Regions from separate parts of the Homo sapiens genome. Here region 1 is linked to region 2. Evidence: promoter capture Hi-C in 16 types of primary human blood cells and fetal thymus (Javierre and others, 2016). All regions are on one chromosome and are shown on one strand. Each heading gives the region's core, a stretch centred on a gene start or on the middle of the fragment in contact. The rest is flanking DNA. Distances are from core to core; before and after follow the strand shown. Region 1 holds the start of ENTPD2 (ectonucleoside triphosphate diphosphohydrolase 2). Region 2 holds the start of RABL6 (RAB, member RAS oncogene family like 6).

Evidence for each region. Contacts are between HindIII fragments. The CHiCAGO score rates a contact against its expected background, and 5 or more counts as called.
Region 1: a contact is called between a fragment that was not itself captured here and the fragment with the promoter of RABL6 in region 2, in 1 of 17 cell types (endothelial precursors). The highest score is 5.1, in endothelial precursors.

Annotation. Positions count from the first base shown.
Region 1 is chr9:137,053,348-137,060,062 of GRCh38, reverse strand. It overlaps ENTPD2 (ectonucleoside triphosphate diphosphohydrolase 2), which reads left to right and starts at 6,002. Exons shown (of 9, transcript NM_203468.3): 1 at 6,002-6,182. The coding sequence starts at 6,066. LOC105376327 (a long non-coding RNA gene) reads right to left here. Exons shown (of 2, transcript XR_930455.2): 2 at 6,688-6,715. RefSeq lists silencers at 5,767-5,846, 5,947-6,016. The HindIII fragment of the contact is 1,265 bases long and covers 3,820-5,084 here.
Region 2 is chr9:136,806,698-136,813,202 of GRCh38, reverse strand. It overlaps RABL6 (RAB, member RAS oncogene family like 6), which reads right to left and starts at 5,255. Exons shown (of 15, transcript NM_024718.5): 1 at 4,877-5,255. The coding sequence starts at 5,006. It overlaps CCDC183 (coiled-coil domain containing 183), which reads right to left. Exons shown (of 14, transcript NM_001039374.5): 12 at 6,336-6,446; 13 at 6,137-6,233; 14 at 5,462-5,631. The coding sequence ends at 5,513. It overlaps CCDC183-AS1 (CCDC183 antisense RNA 1), which reads left to right and starts at 4,355. Exons shown (of 5, transcript NR_024580.1): 1 at 4,355-4,476; 2 at 6,001-6,374. It also overlaps the pseudogene LOC100422233 and the pseudogene NCLP1. RefSeq lists silencers at 4,444-4,973, 4,984-5,113, 5,134-5,193, 5,244-5,413, 5,614-5,843 and enhancers at 5,119-5,715, 5,716-6,311. The HindIII fragment of the contact is 3,360 bases long and covers 4,137-6,505 here.

The sequences.
Region 1 (6,715 bases), core at 3,203-5,702, 250 kb before region 2:
AAAGACAAAACAAACAAAAAACTTCCCACAGAAAAATTGGGCCTAGGTGTTTTTTTTTTCAGGCAAGTTTTTTTTTTTTTTTTTTTGAGACAGAGTCTCGCTCTTTCGCCCAGGCTGGAGTGCACTGGCTCGATCTCGGCTCACTGCAAGCTCCTCCTCCTGGGTTCACGCCATTCTCCTGCCTCAGCCTCCCAAGTAGCTGGGACTACAGGCGCCCACCACCACGCCCGGCTAATTTTTTGTATTTTTACTAGAGACGGGGTTTCACCGTGTTAGCCAGGATGGTCTCAATCTCCTGACCTCGTGATCCGCCCGCCTCGGCCTCCCAAAGTGCTGGGATTACAGGCGTGAGCCACCGCACCCGGCCTTTTCAGGCAAGTTCTACCATAAATTGCAGGAACAGATAATCCAAATATTACGCTAATTTAAAAAAAATTAAAGCAATTTTTTTGTTTGTTTGTTTTTGGTAGAGACGAGGTCTCACAATGTTGCCTAGGCCGGTCTCCCAAAGTACTGGGATTACAGGTCAGACCATCATGATATCAAAACCATAGAGGAGGCCAGCCACGGTGGCTCACACCTGTAATCCCAGCACTCTGGGAGGCCGAGGAAGGTGGATCACCCGAGGCCAGGAGTTTAAGACCAGCCTGGCCAACATGGGGAAACCCCGTCTCCACTAAAAATACAAAAATGAGCTGGGTGTGGTGGCACATGCCTGTAGTCCCAGCTACTCACGAGGCTGATGCACAAGAATCCCTTGAGCACGGGAGGTAGAGGTTGCAGTGAGCTGAGATTGAGCCACCGTACTCTAGCCTGAGTGACACAGCAACACCTTGTCTCAAAAAAAAAAAAAAGGCAAAGGGAAGCCAGCCATGGTGTGGACCTGTGGTCCCAGCTACTGCAGAGGCTGAGGCAGGAGGACCATTCGAGGCCAAGAGTTTGAGGCCACAATGAGCTATGATTGCACCACTGCAGTCCAGCCTGGGCAATAGAGCAAGACCCTGTTGCTAAAACAAACAAACCAAAGGCCTGTTACCTACTTACAGGGAAGAGGCAGCAGGTGGCAGGGGAGGGGAGAGACTGTTACCAAAACACCAGGGGTTCAGTCCAGGTCCTGCTGTTCGCTGCACAGAAAGCCAATCACGGAGACCAGGAGCACCGCCAGGGGGAAGGCTTTAAGCCGGCCGCAGCCAAGGAGATGGGTGCTCAGTCTCAAATCCGTCTCCCTGACCCACTGAAATTAGGGGTTTATAGAGCAGGGAAGCCACGTAACTAGGTGTGAGAAAACAGGAATTAGGGGCAGCTGAAGAAGAGGAGTTGGTCAACAGGAAGCTGGTGGTTGGCCAGGCAATCTTGACAGCTGGGGGGTCTGGTGTCTCATTGTCAAGATACCGTGATCTGGTGAGTTTTAGCTCTTTCATTCTATCTGGGGGCCTCATGGTTGGTTTTCTGAGAAAGGAACTCAAATAGGACAAATGTCACTTTCTCAAATTTTAAGACTAGGAGGATCAATTTCTGTGTTTATTCAAAGAAACCATAAACATCAGTTCCACGGGACAATTGAGCCGGTTTCAAAATCAAAGAAGGCCAAAGCCAGGCAGGGTGTGGCACACACCTCTAGTCCCCAGCTACTCAGGAGGACTGCTTGAGGCCAGGAATTTACCAGCCTGGGCAACATAGTGAGGCCCCGGTCTCCAATAAAAGGAGATGGGGGGCTGGGTTTGGTGGCTCACGCCTATAATCTCAGCACTTTGAGAGGCCAAGGCAGGTGGATCACTTGAGGTCAGGAGTTCGAGATCAGCCTGGCCAACATGGCAAAACCCCGTCTCTACTAAACATACAAAAATTAGGCTGGGCACGGTGGCTCATGCCTGTAATCCTAGCACTTTGGGAGGCCGAGATGGGCGGATGCTCAGGAGTTTGAGACCAGCCTGGGAGCAACACAGTGAGACCCCGTCTCTATTAGAATGCAAAAAAATTAGCCTGGTGGCACACGGCTGTAGTCCCAGCTATTTGGGAGGCTGAGTCAGAAGAATTGCTTGAACCAGGAGGCGGAGATTGCAGTGAGCCGAGATCACATCACTGCACTCCAGCCTGGGCAACAGAGGAAGAGTCTGTCTCAAAGTAAATAAATAAAATAAGATAAAATGAAATAAAATGCTCACAGTGCCAGCTAGAGCCATCGTTCAGAAAAGAATTTGGCACTTGCTAGAGAAGCAGAACACACACTTGCCTGACAACCAGCAGTTCAGATCCGGGATGCTCCCCAGAGAAGTGCTCTCAAGAGCACACATGCGGCCGGCGCAGCGGCTCACACCTGTCACCCCAGCACTGTGGGAGGCCGACGCAGACGGAGAGGCCGGGCGCGGTGGCTCACACCTGTCATCCCAGCACTGTGGGAGGCCGAGGCAGGCGGGTCGCCTGAGGTCAGGAGTTTGAGACCAGCCTGGCCAATATGGTGAAACCCTGTCTCTACTAAAAATACAAAATTAGTGGGGAATGGTTATAGGCGCCTGTAATCCGAGTTGCTCAGGAGGCTGAGGCGGGAAATCGCTTGAACCCAGGAGGTGGAGGTTGCAGTGAGCTGAGATCGCGCCACTGCACTCCAGCCTGAGCGATAGGGCCAGACTCCACCTCAGATAAAAAATAAAATTAAAAAAAAGAGTGTATATGTGCAGAGCAGCAATCTCAGCAAAGCCTAAAGCCAGACACTGTGTGTTCACCAGCTGCAGCGACACGCCGTCTGCATGTTCTCACTCACAGGATGGAATACAGCAAGGAACAAACAAGCCACACCTCTCAGTGTCAACAGGGTGAATCCCAAACGCGTAACGTGAGTGAAAGAAGCAAGTCCCAGAACAGCACGTCCAGCACATCAGAGACCACCAATGGGGTCCTGCTGCCACCCTGGCATTGCTCTTACCAACTGTGCATATGTGCACCTCCCATTCTGTTGTGTCTCCGACCTCGAACAGGACAGCACAGGCTTCCCCGCCTCCCGTGGGCCTTTGCAAAGTCTGCTCTCCCCAGGCCAGTGGGTGCCCTCCCCACAGGGCTCCCTGTGCATGCATGGAGCCTGGCGTGCTTTGGGCACCCAGGAGTACTACTCAGCAAGCGTTTGTTGAATGACTTAATGAGCACCTGCAGAAAGGGAGCAGTGAGTGAAAGGCCTTTCACAATTAAACCATCAAGGTGTTTCGGCCACAGCACAAGTTTCTTTTTTTTTTTTCTTTTGAGATGGAATCTCGCTCTGTCGTCCAGGCTGGAGTGCAGTGGTGCAGTCTCAGCTCACTGCAACCTCTGCCTCCCAGGTTCAAGCGATTCTCTTGCCTCAGCCTCCCAAATAGCTGGAATTACAGGTGTCTGCCACTACAGCCGACTAATTTTTTTTTTTTTTTTGACTCGCTCTGTCACCCAGGCTGGAGTGCAGTGGCGCGATCTTGGCTCACTGCAAGCTCCGCCTCCCGGGTTCACACCATTCTCCTGCTTCAGCTTCCCGAGTAGCTGGGACTACAGGTGCCCGCCACCACGCCCGGCTAATTTTTTGTATTTTTAGTAGAGATGGCATTTCACTGCGTTAGCCAGGATGGTCTTGATCTCCTGACCTGATGATCCGCCCGCCTCAGCCTTCCAAAGTGCTGGGATTACAGGAGTGAGCCACCGCGCCCGGCCCACAACCGGCTAATTTTTGTATTTCTATTAGAGACGGCGTTTCACCATGTTGGCCAGGCTGGTCTTGAACTCCTGACCTTAAGTGATCCACCTGCCTCAGCTTCCCAAAGTGCTGGAATTACAGACGTGAGCCACACAGCACAAGCTTCTGATGTGGAGACTGAGGCAGGGCAGCCAAGATGTCAGCAGGCCTCAGGAAAGCCCCCCTCCCTGGGAGGTCTGAGCCCTGCGTGGGCGGGAGGCTCCGAGTTCCCTCCCCCAGGGGTTCTCCCCTAACCTCTCTGCATCCGCATGTTCCCAGCTCAGCCGGGGTCATGTGCAGCACATCTGGAGGCCCCATCCCCGAGAGGGTCCTGGAAGCCGAGAGCTGCCCCACCCAGAGGCCCCTCCACCCCTTCAGCTCCTGCCAGCTTCCCTCTGACGCTCTCCCAAGTCTGCCTTCCAGGGTCCCTGAGTCCATGCCAGGAAGGGGCGTTCCCCCGCCCTCACTCCGTCTCAAAGAGAGCTCAGCCTCAGCCTTTGTCCTGGCCGCTCTGGGCTCCCTGCCTCTCCCTCCGCAGGCGAAGCTGGGCACTCGGCCATGAGCCTGTCTCCCCGGGGCAGAGTCCAGCTCCCCTCTCCCTCCCCATCCTCTCAGGCCTGGCAGACCTCCCACTCCCTGGCTTGAGCTTTTTGTCCATGAAAAGAGTCCAGAACACCAGGAAGCCCCGCTGGGCCTGGAGGGAAGCGGGGTACCGCAGGCCAGTGGGGGTCGCAGCACCCTGCCTCTGGGCGGCCTTTGTTCCTTCCTTTTCAGGCATGATGTGCACTGTGCGTGCCTCTCCCTCCTCTGGGCGGTCAGGGGTGGAAGAAAGGCCTGGGGTGTGTGGGGGGAAACTGGGGCCTGGGGCCTGGAGCTTAGCACCGGCAACACCCAGAGATTGCCTGCTGGAGCCCCGCCAGGCTGGGCTGTGAGGCTGAGGCAGCAGAGAGGCTTCCCAGGGTTCCCACCCCTCCCTTTGGGGTCCTGAGCTGGAAGAAAGATGCCTTTACTGGGCCTGTGGCGCCAGACCCTCAGCCCAGGCAGCAATCCCAGCACAATTGTCACTGCCCGTTCCAGAAGGCCGGGCATGGTCTGGACCCTGCCCCATGGGGCTGCCCTTTGGGCCCCAGCAGCCTGCACTCCCTGGTGGCCTTGCCTCGTGGCTCCCTGACGCTGTGTGGCTGGAATTATTGGGACAAGAATTCCCACTTTGCAGCAGGCGCAAAGGGGGTGGCCCCTGGCCGGGCTGGGATGCGGGGCCTGTGAGGCTGCAGAGCCGAAAGGCCAGCCATGTCGTGGGACGGAGGAGCAGGGCTTGCGTCTGGGGCCAGCTGCGCTTCGCCTGCCCCAGCCGTCCCCAGAAGCCTGTTGCTGACCCGCACCCCAAGCTTGGCCTGGGGACCCTCTTCCTTGCCTTTCAGGCCACGTAGAGGCCCCACCTGTTTCCGTCCTGGGGAAGCCTCCTCTGGCCTCCGCAGCCCAAGCCTCTGTTCCCCTCAGGCCGAGGGGGCAGCAGGCGCGGCTGAGGCCCTGGGCTGGGAGGTATGGACCTTTGGCCCGGTCTGTGCTGCTTCTCCTGTTTCTCGGCTCGGTGTGACCTGGGCCGTCCCTCCCCTTCCCCGTTCCTGCGTCCTCACCTTCACCTCAGTACAGGGCCCAGGTGAGGTGGATCTGACTGGGCCTCAAGGGTAGTTCTGGCCTGGGTCAGCTGCGTGTCTCTGGAGCTGACCTGCGCTGGCTCAGCGCCGCAGGCTGGCGGATCCTTGCTGGCCGGGAGGGCATCCCGCAGGCCAGCCTGGTCCTCACCAGCCCTGGGAGTTGGCGCTCAGGGCCCTGCTCCACAAACAGGTGCTGACCCTCGGCTTCCTCCTGAGTCCCCAGCCCGGGCCCCGCGTGGCTCCGCAGCCGACAGTGCCTCATTCCTGCAAGCGAGTCTGGCCTCCTTTCCCGGGCCCGGGAAAAGCGCGGCTCTCCAGCACAGGACCCTCCGAGCCAGCCTCGCCCGCCCACCCCCACGCCAGGTCTCCTGCCTCCACGGCCGGGGGATCCCCTTGCTGAGTGGGCGGGAAGGGGAAGGTGGGCCATAGCCGCGGGGCGCCCGGGCTCAGACCCGGGAGCCGGGGGGCGGTGCTGGTGACTCAGCCGCGCCCGCGTCTCTCACCTGCGCGGGCCGGACGGCGGAAGCTTGGGAGCGGAGGCGAAACCTGTCCGCCCGTGGGCGTGGCCGGTGATGGGCGGGCCCGCCCGGCCTCCCGCCCCTCGTCCCGCCCCGGGGCCCCTACCCCGCGGTCCCGCGGCCCCGCCCGCCTCCGCCTCCGGCTCCCCGCACTCTCCGGGTCCACGCATCGTCCTCCCGCGCGCCCGCCCGCCCATGGCCGGGAAGGTGCGGTCACTGCTGCCGCCGCTGCTGCTGGCCGCCGCGGGCCTCGCCGGCCTCCTACTGCTGTGCGTCCCCACCCGCGACGTCCGGGAGCCGCCCGCCCTCAAGGTGCGCGCCCGGGCACCCAGCGCACGTCTGGGGAGCAGCGGGCCGGGCTTGGAGCCGGGGAGGGGGTGCGGCTGGGAACCTGAGCAGGATCAGCCCGGGACCCCCACCGTGCTCTGCTCCTGGCGGGCTGGGTGGGGTCCCGGGTTCCGCGCTCTGCGCTCCCCGACCGGGTACGCGGAGGGGGCGGGGGGCGGTGGCGCTTCCAGGGCGACGCGGTGCTGAAGGAACAAGTCCCGGGAGTTCCGCGCCCGCCGCCGAGTCCGTCAACGCAGCCCAGGGGCTGTGTCCCCGCTCCCGGGATAGCCCAGCGATGCCCCCTGGGTGCTGCCGGACGCCCGCCCCCAGGCCTGTGCGGGCCCCCAGGGGCACTCCGGGCCACTTCTGCCCTGTGCCGCCGCCCCGGAGGGTGCGGTTAGAGCCACATCGACTGGGTATTCAGCCCAGATGGGGATCCACAAGCCCCAGGACCCAGGGCCCCCGCCAGGACACGAGAGTGGCCCAGAAAGACAGGAGGGCTTGACCGGAGCAGCCCT
Region 2 (6,505 bases), core at 4,006-6,505:
CAGGCTGGAGTTGCAAGGACCACCTGATGCCAGGAGCCAGCCATCTAAAACTGTCTGTCAAAGGCCTGTCTGAGGACACCACTGAAGAGGCTTTAGTCATTCGACAGCTTTGTTGGGCAAGGGTAGTCACCAACCAGGAAACCGGGTGCCCCAAAGGCTTTGGCTCTGTAGATGGCAACAGTGAGGAGGATGCCAAAAGCGCCAAGGAGGCCGCGGAAGATGGTGAAATTGAGGGAAACAAAGGTAACTTGGACTGGGCCAAACCTAAGGGCGAAGGTGGCTTTGGGGTTGTGATGGAGGTAGAGGAAGCTTTGGAGGATGAGGTGGTGGCAGAAGCCAGGAAGGCTTTGGTGGGCGAGGCAGCTTCTGGGGAGGCAGAGGTGACCACAAGCCACAAGGAAAGAAGACAAAGTTTGAACGGCTTCTGTCCCTTTGTCTTTCCCTCTCCCATTTGAAAGAAAGGACGCTGGGGTTTTTATTCCGTTACCTGATCAATGACAGAGCTCTCTGAGGACATTCCAAGACAGTCTACAGTCCTGTGGTCTCCTTGGAAATTCGTATAGACAACATTTCAAGGGTAATACCTTCCTTGTTTGTTTTGACTGGATATTCATATAAACTTTTCTTTCTTTTCTTTTTTTTTTAAGACGAAGTCTCACTCTGTCGCCCAGGCTGGAGCGCAGTGGTGTGATCTTGGCTCACGGCAACCTCTGCCTCCCGGGTTCAAGCGATTCTCCTGCCTCAGCCTCCCGAGTAGCTGGGATTACAGGCATACGCCACCACACCTGGCTAATTTTCATATTTTCAGTAGAGATGAGTTTCATCATGTTGGCCAGGTTGGTCTTGAACTCCTGACCTCATGTAATCCGCCCACCTCAGCCTCCCAAAGTGCTGGGATTACAGGTGTGAGCCACCGTGCCCGGCCTGCTAAGTCCCATTTCTAAATTCGCACCAGTGTCTACTCAGAGAGGACTCTGGTTGTCCGAGCTCCTGGGCCAGGCCAGTATCAGAGCTGCACAATAATGCTCACTCAGGAGCAACTCCACAGAAAAATTCTGCACCAAATACAACTGATATTTTGTGTCCAGTCACAGTAGAAAGGGACAGACCAACTCAGGCAACAATCTTTCTTCCAAATAATTTCAAATAATTTTCCTAATAATTTTATATGCAAATAATTTCAAAATTGTGTAAACCAAAATTAAAATCCCAAGGCCTGCCAACCATCTGAATGGACTTCCTCTTCTAGGCCAGGGCCATCCAAATTTCATCTGAAAGACTGGTTCAGGCCATTATGGGAAGAGGGGAGTCAGACAGGCCTCATTGTGGCCTCCTCCCTTCTGGAATTCAGGAAAAGCTCACCAGCATTTAACATCAACACTGACTTTAAGTCTGATAAGAAACATAATCTGGCCAGGCGCGGTGGCTCACGCCTGTAATCCCAGCACTTTGGGAGGCCAAGGGGTTCGGACTGCTTGAGTAGAGGGGTCTGAGCCCAGCTGGGCAACGTGGTGAAACCCTGTCTCTCTAAAAAATACCAAAATTAGCTGGGTGTGGTGGTGCAATTGTTTTTTTTTTTTTTTTTGAGACAGGGTCTGACTCTGTCACCCAGGCTGGAGTGCAGTGGCACAATCTCAGCTCACTGTAACTTCTGCCACTTGGGCTCAAGCGATTCTCCCGCCTCAGCCTCCTGAGTAGCTGGGATTACAGGCACCCACCATCACACCCGGTTAATTTTTATAGTTTTAGTAGAGACGGGGTTTCGACATGTTGGCCAGGCTGGTCTTGAACTCCTGGCCTCAGGTTGTCCGCCTGCCTCGGCCTCTCAATGTGCTGAGATTACAGGCGTGAGCCACCGCGCCCGGCAAAAAAACACAATTTTTTTAAACTACCTCCGACCTGGAAGCCCCCACTTCAAGTTGTCCCGCCTTTGTGGACCAAATCAACATATATCTTAAATGTATTTGATTACTGTCTCATGTCTAAAATGTATAAAACCAAGCTGTGCCCTCCACCTTGGGCACATGTCCTCAGGGTCACCTGAGGGCTATGTCACGAGCCATGGTCACTCATATTCAGCTCAAAAATAAATCTCTTCAAATATTTGACAGAGTTTGACTTTTTCATCCATTATGGTCCAATGTCTCATTCGAGTTTTTATTCTAAAACCAGTGGGTGTCCCACACGTCTACCGGGACCACTAGCAACTCCGAGCAAATGCAGGGCCCAGGAGGAGAGCCCAGACTCCTGGAAACCCGCAGCAGTTCCCAGAAACTCTCACCCCCAAAACCCTCGACTCTGTCTTGATCACATTGCTGGTCTGTTACGCTCTGTAAAATATTTGAGAAAATAAATACCAGAAAGCCGGGCATGGTGGCTTACGCCTGTAATCCCAGCACTTTGAGAGGCTGAGGCGGGCAGATCACGAGGTCAGGAGATTGAGACCATCCTGGCTAACACGGTGAAATCCTGCCTCTACTAAAAATACAAAAAATTAGCCGGGCGTGGTGGCCGGTGCCTATAGTCCCAGCTACTCGGGAGGCTGAAGCAGGAGAATGGTGTGAACCCGGGAGGAGGAGCTTGCAGTGAGCTGAGATCACGCCACTGCACTCCAGCCTGGGAGACACAGCAAAACGCAAAACTCTGTCTCAAAAAAGAAAAGAAAAGAAAAGAAATACTAGAAACTTTCTATTCTAACACAGAAACTCAAAAGTTTTAAAATTGCATGTTATTCAGCTATAAAGATAACATCTTTCTAAAATGTAATTTAGGTACAAATTCAAATTTCTCTCTGTCTCACCACCTTTCATTCAGTTCTAGGAGATCATAACCTGTTCTCCAAGTACTGGAGACTGGCTTTTCTCCTCTGGAAGGACCCCATTGCCCTTTTTAGTCACACTCGCCCAGGACCACACAGGGGTGGTCCTGGTGCATGAGGTGGACCTTGCCCAGGACCCTCGGGGAGCCTTTTCAGAAGGTGAACAGTTTCCAGGTCCAGGCCTGATTTCCCAGGGACTAATACTGAGCTTAGCCAATACTGTAAGCAATAAAATTAAATAAAGGATCCAAACGCAGAGTCTAAAAACTGGCGTAAACTCAGTTATTTTGACTCAATATTCTCTTCTCCGAATGCCAGCTATGTATAAAGTTTCAATTATAACACATTTAAAATCAGCTTTTATTTTTATTCAAAATGCACCACTTTATTTTCCTTACCAGACAGCCAAGCATTAAGCACGTTCCAGTCACGTGACTTCTTCAGCGAGCCCCCAGGCTTCCACTCCACGGGAGTCTGGGAGCTCCTGGACAGAGGAGTCCTGAGATTTCAAATAGTCAAGCCTTCTCCCCAGCCACAAGTTCCTTTGATGCTTGGGTTACTGAACACAAACGCAATGGATTGTTTGTCTTCAACATAATCCGTTTCTGTTCCTAAACGTGTTGGCTGCGCTTTCTTTCTGATGAGCACGCTGACTCTAATTTGAACTTCATCAAAATCTTCTTTGTCGTCGTATGTTCTAGAGTATAAGAAAAGCCAATACGGCCCTTGGTTCGGACATCAACTTTCTTTTAAATTTTTTTTTCGTATTTTTAGTAGAGACGGTGTTTCACTATGTTGGCCAGGCTGGTCTCGAATTCCTGACCTCGTGATCTGCCCGCCTTGGCCTCCCAAAGTGCTGGGATTACAGGCATGAGCCACCGTGCCCGGCCCGGACACCAACTTTCATACCTAGATGCTCAGACTTATCTTTAAGAAGTTGTTTTATCTTGCTTACTGCTAAAGGTGTCTGGGTGAGGGTGGCCCGAGTGGTCTGCAGCTTCCTCTTGCTCACAGGCCGGGGGACTAAGGAAGGCGACATCTTCACTGTCCTCCTGGACTAGCTCCAGCCCCAGGAACTACGGCCTCTCTCCGTGCACACGGCACGCGAATTCATGAACTTGCTTTTAAACCTGCACAAGAGTCTTTCTGATCATTAGTTCTTAAAATTCTACATTACCATGGAAATATCACGGAGGCTCTAAGGCTCCCCTTAAAGTGACCAAAAAACTGGATAGGCGTAGCGTCCTAAAACCTCATAGAAACATACGGAAATGGCTAAGAGGGAAGCAATGTCAAAACAGGGAACCACATAAAAGCTTTCAAAAACTACTGGGAAAGAGCCCGCAAGATGGAAAAACTCATAAGAGGTCGAGGACAATTTACACAATTTATAACAAAGGAATGGAGCGTCCCAGGCACTCAGGAGTCCGTAAATGACTCCTCCTTCCTACGAGAAATGGGATGTCTCCTACAGTCGCAAGTCAGCCCGTGCCTTCTGGAGCTTTTCTAGATACGTCTCTTACAAACGCTTCTTTTAAAAAAAAAGGCGAGAATGTGTGGCGTAGCTAATATTCTGTCTTCAAACTCAGTAGGAAGTCAACAAAGAAAAATCCCGCTGAAAGCGCCAAGGCCGGCTGGGTTCCCCGCACCTCCTGCAGGTGAGTGGTGCCCGGGGCTGGGCACCGTGGAGCGTCGGGGGCGCGGCGCCCCGGGCCGGCGGGCCCTGCTTGGCATTATGTAATCACCCCCGGGCCGGGCAGCCGGGCCAACCCCGCCGCCGCCGACCCGCTCCACTGCACAGCGCGGCGGGAGCGACACGCGGCAGGCGAGTGCGGCTGGGAAACGACCCGCGGCTCGGGGGCCGCGAGGACCCGGCCCTGGCCTGGCCTCTCCTCGCGTCCCCTGGCCCGCGCCCCCGCTCCCGGAGCGCCCGGCGGGCCCAGCGCACCCCACAACCGGCAAGCAGGTGAGACCGACACCCACCACCGCGCGGCGCCCGGGGCCTGGGTTCGGAGACCCGCGCGGCGCTCCCGCGCCCCCCCGGCCCGCCGCACTCACTGTTGTACTGCACCCCCTTGGCGAAGCGCCTCTGCAACGCCTGGTTCATGGACTGCAGCCCGGCGGGGATGTTCTTGTCCCGGCCCGGGGCCTGGTCCGACCCCACCAGCTTCTTCAGGGCGGAAAACATCTTCCCGCTCGGACGTCCCAGCCCGGGCGCGGCCGGCGAGCTCAGCGGCGGCGGGGAAGGGGTGCGACTGGCACCATGTCCCGGCGGCCCCGGCCCCCCCGGAGGCCGGAGCCGGCGCGGCCAGAGGCCGGGGTCCCGGCGGCGGAGCGCAGCCCCGAGCGGCGACTCGGGAACCTCAGCCGCGGCTGCTCCGCTCCGGCCCCCGCGGCCTCCGGCGCGACCGCTCTCCAGGAGTCAGCGCCGCCATCTTGGCGCCGGCTCGGCGGGACGGGAGGGGTGCGCGGCTACGGGGCGCCGCGAGGGCCGCGGGGGCGCGGCGCGCGCGGTCGGCGCATGCGCACGCGGTTCTGGCGCGCAGTTCCGGGCCCGGGCTGCCTCCTTACGCAGAACCTCCCCCGATCCTGCGTGTCCCGTGCTCCTCTCCGAGACCCCGGTCGCCCCAGCGTCCGCAGCAGTCCTGGAAAAATGTTTATTTGTGTAGCAAAGCAGGGAGCGGGGCGGCGGGGCTACTTCTTCTTTTTCTTGGCCGCCTTGAGCTTCCCCTCGATTAGCCGCTGCGCCTGCCTCTTGATCTCGGCGCGCGAAGGGACGTAGCTGTGGTCCATGTCGGGGAACTGGAAGGTGTCTGCGGGCGGAGGCGGCGGCTCGCACACGGGGCTAGCCCAGCTAGGCGCAGCCGCCCGACCCGCCTCTCGCCCCCGCCCTCCACCGACCCGGGCCAGGTGCCTTGCCCCAGGGACAGCCCCAGCGTGCCGGGAGGACTCAGCCCAGCCCATTCGCAGCGGCTCACGCTGCCCTGCCTAGCCTTTCCCGCAGAACCCCCAGTGGAAGCTCCGGCCCAGGCCTTCACCGCGCTCCTCCCTGCTCCAGCCCTGGTGCCTCTCCTCCGGGCCCGTCTGGCATGGCATGCCTCCTCCTTTCGGAGAAATTAACAAGGTATTTCAGTGGCTTTAGCCTCCCCATGGCATCACTAAGTCACCTCCATCAATTAAAGTCCTGCAGGTACAACTGATGCACCCTGTAGCCCCGCTGTCCCTCCAGGATGTCCCGGTGGGATGGGAGCCGGCGCCACCCCGACCTGTGTTCCAGCCACCCGCCTGCAGCCCGGGCCCCAGTTCCGGGGCCTGTACCGATCATATCCTCCTCCCGGTTCTCAAAGCTGATCCTGGTGTTGTACTTCTCCATCAGAGTCGAGGACTCCAGGGTGTCCCTCACCTTTGTGTCGCCCTGCAGGGCAAAGCCCCCTTCAGCCGTGCAGACACTCTGAACGGGAGCCTGTCAGCTTTGAGGGGACGTGGGCTGTGCAGGTTCCTCCCAGCCCGGGGCTACCTCCTCGGTCCTGGACACCATCTGCACTCTGTCAGCCAGGTACGTGAGCTTCCCCTCGCAGTACGCCAGCTTGCTGTTCAAATCGAGGGTGTTGGAGAGCACCACTTCTCTCTGTAGGCCGGGAGGAGGGTCTCATCTCCCCTCTGGCCCTGCCCAGGGACCTGGTGTGT